Linked DNA regions of Homo sapiens: region 1 is linked to region 2. The links are contacts of gene promoters, found by promoter capture Hi-C in blood cells and fetal thymus (Javierre and others, 2016). All regions are on one chromosome and are shown on one strand. The core of a region is centred on a gene start or on the middle of the fragment in contact, and the rest is flanking DNA. Distances in the headings are between cores, read along the strand shown. Region 1 has its middle 97 kb from the start of ACSL4. Region 2 holds the start of GUCY2F (guanylate cyclase 2F, retinal).

What was found. The method cuts DNA at HindIII sites, captures the fragments that hold promoters and counts their contacts. A CHiCAGO score of 5 or more calls a contact.
Region 1: a contact is called between a fragment that was not itself captured here and the fragment with the promoter of GUCY2F in region 2, in 1 of 17 cell types (neutrophils). The highest score is 6.4, in neutrophils.

The regions. Positions count from the first base shown.
Region 1 is chrX:109,828,059-109,832,257 of GRCh38, reverse strand. No RefSeq gene overlaps it. Among named protein-coding and RNA genes, the nearest start is that of ACSL4, 97 kb to the right of the region's middle. The HindIII fragment of the contact is 4,161 bases long and covers 371-4,199 here.
Region 2 is chrX:109,479,808-109,484,420 of GRCh38, reverse strand. It overlaps GUCY2F (guanylate cyclase 2F, retinal), which reads left to right and starts at 2,335. Exons shown (of 20, transcript NM_001522.3): 1 at 2,335-2,555. The HindIII fragment of the contact is 1,102 bases long and covers 1,676-2,777 here.

The DNA of each region.
Region 1 (4,199 bases), core at 1,202-3,701, 350 kb before region 2:
TCTTAAAGTCCTTATTTGGCTCCTTCTGACTTTTCTTTGGGTCCTAATATTAAAAAATCTTTAGAGGGCACCAATTTTCTTCAGTTAATAATGTGAAAAATATTGCATAACATAGTTAAATTCCCAGGACCGTCAATTATTTAGGGATGGATGAAGTGACTGGTATTATAGCTTACAAAAATGTCTTCACCTTGATGGAACTCATGTTGAGAAATAAAGTTTATATTTTTTTTACTTTTATCTTTAATTCCATTTTTCACGTTTTGAAATCCCCTTGTAATGTTAATAACATGTTTGATAGAGGAGGCAAGGTGCAATGTGAACCTTGTGCATGGACACCTAAAACAGTTTAGAGGGTTTACAGAAAGCTTCCTGGAGTAGGTAACCCTTTGAGTTGGCCTCTGGTGTCAGATGGAGCTATTTTGAATTGCAGTTCTTTCATTTACCACCTGTGTGTCCCTGGGCAGATTACTTTACCTTTTGGAGTCTCATTTTCCTCATATGCAAAATAGGGCTAATAATACTAATAGTGATGAACTCATAGAGTCATTATAAGGATGAAATGAGACGATGCATACACAACACTATGCGTTTGTTTGGCACACATTGAGCATCTAATAAAAGTCAGTTGTCATTGTCGTGGTTGTTGTTATTATAGTTTAGGACACAGGTTTTGAAAGCAGAGAGACCTGGCTTGAACTCTGACCCCGAGCAAGTTACTTAATGTCTCCAACTCCCGTTTCCTTATCTGTAAAATGAAGGTAGTAATTCTATCCAAGTATGAAGGTTATCAGGATTAAATGATATAATTTACTTAACCCAGTGTCTGGCAGATGATAAGTTCTCCATAAATAGTCGCTGTTGTTATTAGGCACAGTGAGGGCAACAGTGAGTGCCCAGTAAATGTTGTTGAATGACCAACTAACTAGTGGGTACCAAGTATTCATATTCAGTAGTTGAGAGAGGAAACTCCATCAACTTCAGCTTTACTATTACAAATTGGACATGAAGCCATCTCTACCTGAAAAGCCTTGATACCTTACAGTTACTAAAACATTTTCGGAATTTCCTGTTATTTAGTAACTGCTAGTCCTCAGCTGATATGTAAATAAGACTTCCGAGTATGTGTAAAGTTACTAAACAGTATGGGGAAACGGTCCTCCTGGTTAGTTTTTTCCATCAATAAATAACCCATCATTTGATGAAGCAACAAGCTCATTTCCCTAAAAAAAAAAAAATAGCAGAAACAACATGACTCAGAGCTTTAAAAAGCCCTGTTTGGTTTTTGTTAAATATATATTTAGATAATGATAAACCAAGACCTTAGGCCAGATTCACAATCTCCTCCTCTGCTTCTGTGGCTATGGTTATGCAAGGAAATGGAAAAAAATGTTCAAAGAGACCAGGGGCCCTAGTCCAACATTTGGACTGATTGAATTTCCTAACCCCACTTCCTTCTGTGGTTCTTTCCCAGCCAGGCTAATAACCTCTATACAAGATTGACCCTCAGAAAAGTTATATGCAGGCCAACTTTGTCTTTGCTTCCTCCTTGTCTACCTTTCCACTCCTCTATGCTCTGTGTCTCCAGTATCTTCATGCTCTTCTCCAGCCCCCCAAATCCCTTTCTGATATGTCTTTTATGAAGTAGCTTTCCAGGGCATAGATAGCCCTTGCCCTCCCTCCCATCGAATTGACCTGTCCTGTAGGTCACTCACCCAGGGTTCTGGCTATTGGTTCCTAAGGTGACAGGTGATCGAATTGTAATAGTATAGCTGCTTCCACTGCCCCAACTCTGGCATATTAACATGCTCAGTTCCTTGCTCCAAAGAAGAGGTTCAGGAGCTCCTCTATGAAACACTGCCAGGAGTCCCAGGTTTCCTAGTGTCAGGGTGGGGTTGCTGCATGAAATTCATGTTAGCCACCAACTGTGCATTCTGCCCACAGTGGTGAGTTGGCTTGTGGCATGCTTTGTCAGAGCTCCTGCTTGGTAAAGTCAACTGGGGTAAGCATAGGGTGCCAGTGAGATGAAGTTACATGGAGATAAGGGTAATATCAACCCCTGCCCCCCCACCCCCGCCCAGGGATATTGTGATGATTAAATTAAGTAATATATGTAAAACTTTCAGAAGAATACCTGGCACTATGTAAGTGTCCAATAAATGTTAGTTGTTGTTGTTACTCTCACCCACTGAAGACTGGGTGGCTAGCCAGCAAGGATTCTGATCCAACACGGCTCATGACTACAAATGCTGCTTCTCTCAGCGTGCCTCTTTTGGAGCCCACTCCCACTCACCAAGCCCCTCCTGAGCAGGGATGACTCCCACTCAAGGACCACATTTGGGGCTCTGGCTCCCAGCTTTTCCCCACCTCCTAGTCTGTCCTGCCTGTCTGCCTGCTGCTAACCTCATTTACCATCGGCACTAAAAGCCCTAGTGTCTTCTTTTCCCTCATAACAATCCAGAAATCATACACCAGCAGCAAATAGGTGCTGAGGAAATTTTGTTTGACTGACATGGTTTTTTTTAAAATTTCAGTTGGTTGACAACATTTAAAGATCAGGAGGTTTCCTATTAAAAAAAAAGCTGGGATTTTGACTTCTTTCTTTTTCCTTTTTTTTTTTTTTTTTTTTTTTTTGAGACAGTCGGCTGGAGTGTGCTGGCGAAATCTTGGCTCACTGCAACCTCCGTCTCCTGGCTTCAAGCGATTCTCCTGCCTCAGCCTCCTGAGTGGCTGGGACTACAGGCACGTGCCACTTTCATGCGCGTCGGTGTGAAGAGACCACCAAACAGGCTTTGTGTGAGCAACATGGCTGTTTATTTCACCTGGGTGCAGGCGGGCTGAGTCCGAAAAGAGAGTCAGCAAAGGGTGGTGGATTATCATTAGTTCTTATAGGTTTTGGGATAGGCGGTGAAGGTAAGAGCAATGTTTTGCGGGCAGGGGTGGATCTCACAAAGTACATTCTCAAGGGTGGGGAGAATTACAAAGAACCTTCTTAAGGGTGGGGGAGATTACAAAGTACCTTCTTAAGGGTGGGGGAGATTACAAAGTACATTGATCAGTTAGGGTGGGGAAGAAACAAATCACAATGGTGGAATGTCATCAGTTAAGGCTCTTTTTACTTCTTTTGTGGATCTTCAGTTACTTCAGGCCATCTGGATGTATACATGCAAGTCACAGGGGATGCGATGGCTTGGCTTGGGCTCAGAGGCCTGACAGCCACCACACCTGGCTAATTTTTTGTATTTTTAGTAGAGACGGGGTTTCACCGTGTTAGCCAGGATGGTCCTGATCTCCTGATCTCGTGATACACCCACTTTGGCCTCCCAAAGTGCTGGGATTACAGGCGTGAGCCACCATGCCTGGCCTCTTTTCTTTTCTTTTTTAGATTTTAAGGTCTAACAACAGGGGCTCAAATCTCAGTTGGCAAATATCCATTGCCTCTGAGTGGTGCTTGCCCCCTTTAAACCAGCCTTGTACTCTCTGGTTTGCCACTGTCCCCATTGGCCCACTTCTCTCTTTCACTAGTACTAGCAATAGCCCTTAGGGCTCACCAGGAAGAGCCTTAATGGCTTATTAAAGCTGGAGCCCTTTGTCTCTCCCCTTCCCTTTCCTGCTCCTTCCCCTCTCCTCAAAAAACAAAACAAAACAAAACAAAAAACAAAAAAAACAAAAAACAAAAAAACTGGAGCCTAAATCAGTAGGAACAGAAAACAAGTTTCTCTTACCTGGAGGTCAGGGAAGCTGCCTGGCATTGGCAAAACTCAATTGCCTATCTCTGCTTCCTGGAGGGAAGAAGAGATATTCCTTTTATCCGCAGAAGGTTGCCCTTTACTGGAGATGAGCCAAATGACCTTCCTAAATGCAGAAAAGAAAAAATACAAAACAAGCTGAAGCTCACGCCTGTAATCCTAGCACTTTGGGAGGCCAAGGTGGGTGGATCATGAGGTCAGGAGATACAGACCATCCTGGCCAACATGGTGAAAACCCGTCTCTAGTAAAAATACAAAAATTAGCTGGGCGTGGTGGCGCATGCCTGTAATCCCAGCTACTTGGGACACTGAGGCAGGAGAATTGCTTGAACCAGGGAGTTGGAGTTTGCAGTGAGCTGAGATAGTGCCACTACACTCCAGCCAGGTGACGGAGCGAGACTTTATCAAAAGAAACAAACAAACAACAACAACAACAACAACAACAACAAC
Region 2 (4,613 bases), core at 1,086-3,585:
TACTGTGATTAAGAGGCAGTGGTTAAGAGTCCTGACTCTAAAGCTAGAGTACTTATTTTCACAGATGGCTCCACCAGAAACTAGCTGTATGCGCTTGGGCAAATTACTTAATCTCTTTGTGCCTCAGTTTTTCATCTATAAAATGTGGATGATAATAATACCTACCCCATAGGACAGTTGTGATGATCCATTGAGCTAGTATATGTAAAGTCCGTAGAGCAACAAGTGTTTGTGGAACTCTTAATCAAAAGAAGCAAATTCACTTTAGAAATTTTATTTATGTGCTAATTCCCAGCTACTTCTACCTATAAATTTAGAATCTTATGTCTATTCAGGATTTTGGAACATTCCTTGAATGATGGTCCCTTGAACATCCTAGTCCTCATCAGAACCTTCTCATAAAATCCATACTGGGGTTGCTCATGGCACCATGCAGCACTACATAGAGAATGCTAACTGGGGCCCTCACTTGCACCAGTATTTCCATCAGGTCACCTGAAATTCTACAATTAGGGATTGTTTCCTTTGGGTAGTCACGGTGTGTTTCTGGAGACTCTATTAGAGTGCAAGCAGTCTTTGGAGGGATAGCACAAGGGTGCATTAGTGGAATATATCAAGGATAAACGTGAGCTTTCTTGGAGCCAAATAGTCTTGCGTTTAAATTTTCTGGCTCTATTACTTACTAGAATTAGAGTGTCTGAGTTCAAATTCTGTCTCTACTGACCAGTGGCTGTGTGATTTTTGGTAAGTTACTGTAACCTCTCTGGATGTCTGGGAATTCAAATAGTATCTATCTCGTGGGGTCACTGTGAAGATCTAAGGAGACAGGGCTTCCAAAAATGCCTGTCACATCATTGGCACTCAGTAAGTATGATTATTGCCTAATTTATCTCAGTCTTGGCATCCTCATTTACAAAATGGAAAGAATGGGTAATATCCACCTTCATGGTTGTTGTGAACATAAAGATGTACATATAAGTATAATGTACATATAAAATGCCTGTCATACTTAAATAAAAAACTGATAGATAGTAACAAGTGTTGGTAAGAATGTAGGCAAAAAAGAACCCTCATATGTTGCTGGTGGGAATGCCAAATGGTGCATATACTTTGGAAAACAGTTTGCCAATTCAAAAAATGTTAAACATAGAGTTATTATATGACCCAGCAATTCCCTGGGTATATGCCAAAGAGAAATAAAAACAATATGTCCATATAAAAACTTTTACACAAAAGTAATAAAAGCAGTATTCATAATAGCCCAAGGTGGAAACAACCTAAATTTCCATCAACTGATCATGTGGTATACCCAAAAAAGTGGAATATTATTTGGCCACAAAAGAAATGAAGTACTGGTACAGGCTAGAACGTGCATGAACCTTGAAAACGGTTTGTTTTTCAAACAAAGTGTGTTTGGTTTTTTGTTCTTGCGATAGTTTACTGAGAATGATGATTTCCAATTTCATCCATGTCCTTCTTTCATTCAAACAAAGAAGCCACTCGCAAAAGATCACATGTTGTATGATTCCATTTATATGAAATGTTCAGAATAGGAAAATCCATAGAGAAAGTAAATTAGTGGTGGCCTGGGGCTAGGAGGAGGAGAGAAATGGGGAGTGACTTTTAAACAAGAATGGAATTTCTTTGTGGGAATAATGAAAATGTTGCACAAGCTTGTGAATATACTTTAAAAAAACCCTAAATTATATACTTTTGTGGTAGATAAATTATATCTCAATAAAACTATTATTAAAAAACATTTCTCATTTAATATAAGTCATTTTTAGCCCTTAACACCTCAGTTCTCACGTTGGGAATCCAGAACAGGGCCCTGAGTGAATGATGCCCAGGACAGAGAGGGACTTCTTAAGGAAAAGGAATACATCTAAAGTATGGGGAAACAATGTCTCTGTACAAAGGTGTAGAGGGAAGTAGGGAGTCTCTCTTGGGAGGAAAGGCAGTGAAGGCACTTAAGGGGAATAGGAGAAGGAGACAAAATTCACCTGCTTTGAATTTTGCAGGGAGCCAGCCTGGATCACCTTTTATATTCTGGGCTGGAATCACAGCTGATGAATGTTTTGGCATTTAGAACTGTCCTGGAGAAAGGGCGATTGGTGGTTATTAGACAGAATGGAACAAGGAAGAACACAGAGGCAAAATCTGAGAGTTTGTGTCTGACTTTGAAAGGTAAAAGAAGGCAGTAGTCTGTGGAGGACGTATTTATCCAGAGGACTCTATTTGTTTGTTAATCTCTGGGTCATTGCATTTAGGTCAGCACTAACTCTGCTACAGGTGGGATCAATTTAAAGGATTAGAAGTGTCACTCTAAATCCTAATCCAAGTCTTGGTCTGCGGATGCTGAAGAGTGATTTTCAAAACATTTACTAACGCTTTCAATTATTTACCCCATTAATGGAATTTGTCAACAGACTGGAGTCCTTGACAGGATTGTGAATGCATAGAGGATGCAAAGAAATGGACACACTGAGGTAGCTATGCCAGTGGTCTGCATGCGCAGGCAGTAAACTGAAGACATTTGAGCGGTGAATTACTTGGTGAGTAGTTGACAGCTCTTGTTTATAAGAAAGATTGTAATGGGGGGAAAAAAGACACAGCCCACCTGGGAGCTGAGACGCTGATTGAGATACATTAGTTTTACTGCAATATGTAGTAAAAAAAAAAATTTAAAGAATGAAGGAAAGAAGGAAAGAAGGGTTAAAGAGAGCCTTCGAGATACTTTAAGTCAAGATTTGAGCTCAAAGGCTCTCATCCAAGCTTTCGTTTAGTTTCTCTCATGATTCTTTTTTTATTGCTTCCTGATGTTGTCTTATACAAGCTGTTAACTTGATTCAGGCTGTAATTAGAAAGACAAATCAATCTTTCATAGAAGTCCTCGGCTTGACAAGCTGGTATGAGGAGCCATTTCCCTCAGAGCTATTTGTCATAGTCTTTCTTTGTACATGTTTAACGAACGGTGGTTTTCTGTGTGAAGCCAGGCTTCCCATCAGATTGTAAAAACTACCTGAAATGAAATTATGCATCCCTATGCTCTAGCCGCTTTCCATGGAAGTCTGATCCCATGCAGGTGTTCACACCTGAGTAACCTAGGCAATGGCCCCAGAACAACTGTGGGCCAGTAGTATTCTATTTCCAAAATTTCATACCTTCAAACTTTGTTTTAGTTATATCCACATTTCCCATTAACCCCAGGAAAGACTTTAGTGAGCTAATTTTTTTCCTTAAACCAAAATCAGCAGGTGGAGGTTTAGGGCATCCTCCCCCTATCTTGCCCCTTTCTTTCCCTCCCTCCCTCCCTTCCTTCCTTCCTTCCTTCCTTCCTTCCTTCCTTCCTTCCTTCCTTCCTTCCTTCCTTCCTTCTTCTCTCCCTTCATTCCTCCCTCCCCTTCTTTCCTTCCTTCTTTCTCTTCTTCCCTCCTTCCCTCTCCCTTCCTCCCCCTTCCTCTTTTCCTTCCTTCTCTCTTCCTCCCTTCCTTCCTTCCTTCCCTTCTTTTTTTCTTTTTTCTTTTTTAAAGAATAAGTTTCCTTCTGTAAAATCTTGAGTTGGGGGATCAAGACTAAATCCTACAGCAACATAAAACTTTCTGGTTGTCCAGGGAGTCCTAACAGAGTTAGAAATATCACCAAATGCATCACATCGGTACCAGAAAAAATGTAAGGGCAGACCTTCAGCTTGGGAAATGTTTATCTTGCAGTTAACAAAGGGAAAAGAGCAACAAAAACTGAGAGTGAATGCCAAGGGACACTTTGTGGCATGTGGCCTGAGGAGGGACCCGTGTTGTATGAATTTTAGAAATGGTATAAAAAATCTAACTTTTTAGAATTTGGGGTGGGCATTGTGCTTAGGAGTTACCTGGATTATAACACAAAAATGCCAGCCTTACACCTAGAATGGACAGTTAATCACTTTGATCTGAGGGGCACCAAAAGTTTCTTCATTTTTTTGCTCAAAAAGTAGTCCATCCTCCTTTGCCTACCTGCAACTGATGCTTGAAATAGACATTATATTATTAGAGATTAATTATTTTGGCATAAACTTCTCCCCAGCCCTTAAGAGAGAACAAACACCACTGGTTGGGGAGGAATACAGGAAAGTGTCAAATATTATCATTCATTTACATATTAGTGCAAATCATTTAAAGAGTTTCTTTCTTTAGAGTTGTTTTCTCTCCATTAACGAGAGGGCAGAGAGAGCTGTGCTAGAAGTCTGAAGACAAACTTTACCCCTTGATAATTTTGCCAAAGGTGGGTCTTGATTAAGGCCTAAAATAGAGCATTTTAAATAACATGGTAATACAAAACATTTTATTTGTGCTCCATATCTCCTCTTCAGTATTAATTCAACATATATTTTTTGCGCACCTACTATGTGTCAGGCACTGCGAAGGGCACTGGAGATTTAATGTTAAGCAAAAGCAAGCAGGGAACTTACTAACTTGGTTTTCTCCCTCCTGAGGTACATGCTTGCTTTTCTTGTTTAGATTTCTTGGCCAGGCCCTTATACTCTCCCATTTTTTTTTTGTAGTTAGTCTTAGCACAGACCAACTTCTCAACGTGTGTTTGTTATTAATGATAATAAGATAACCAGTGATTTT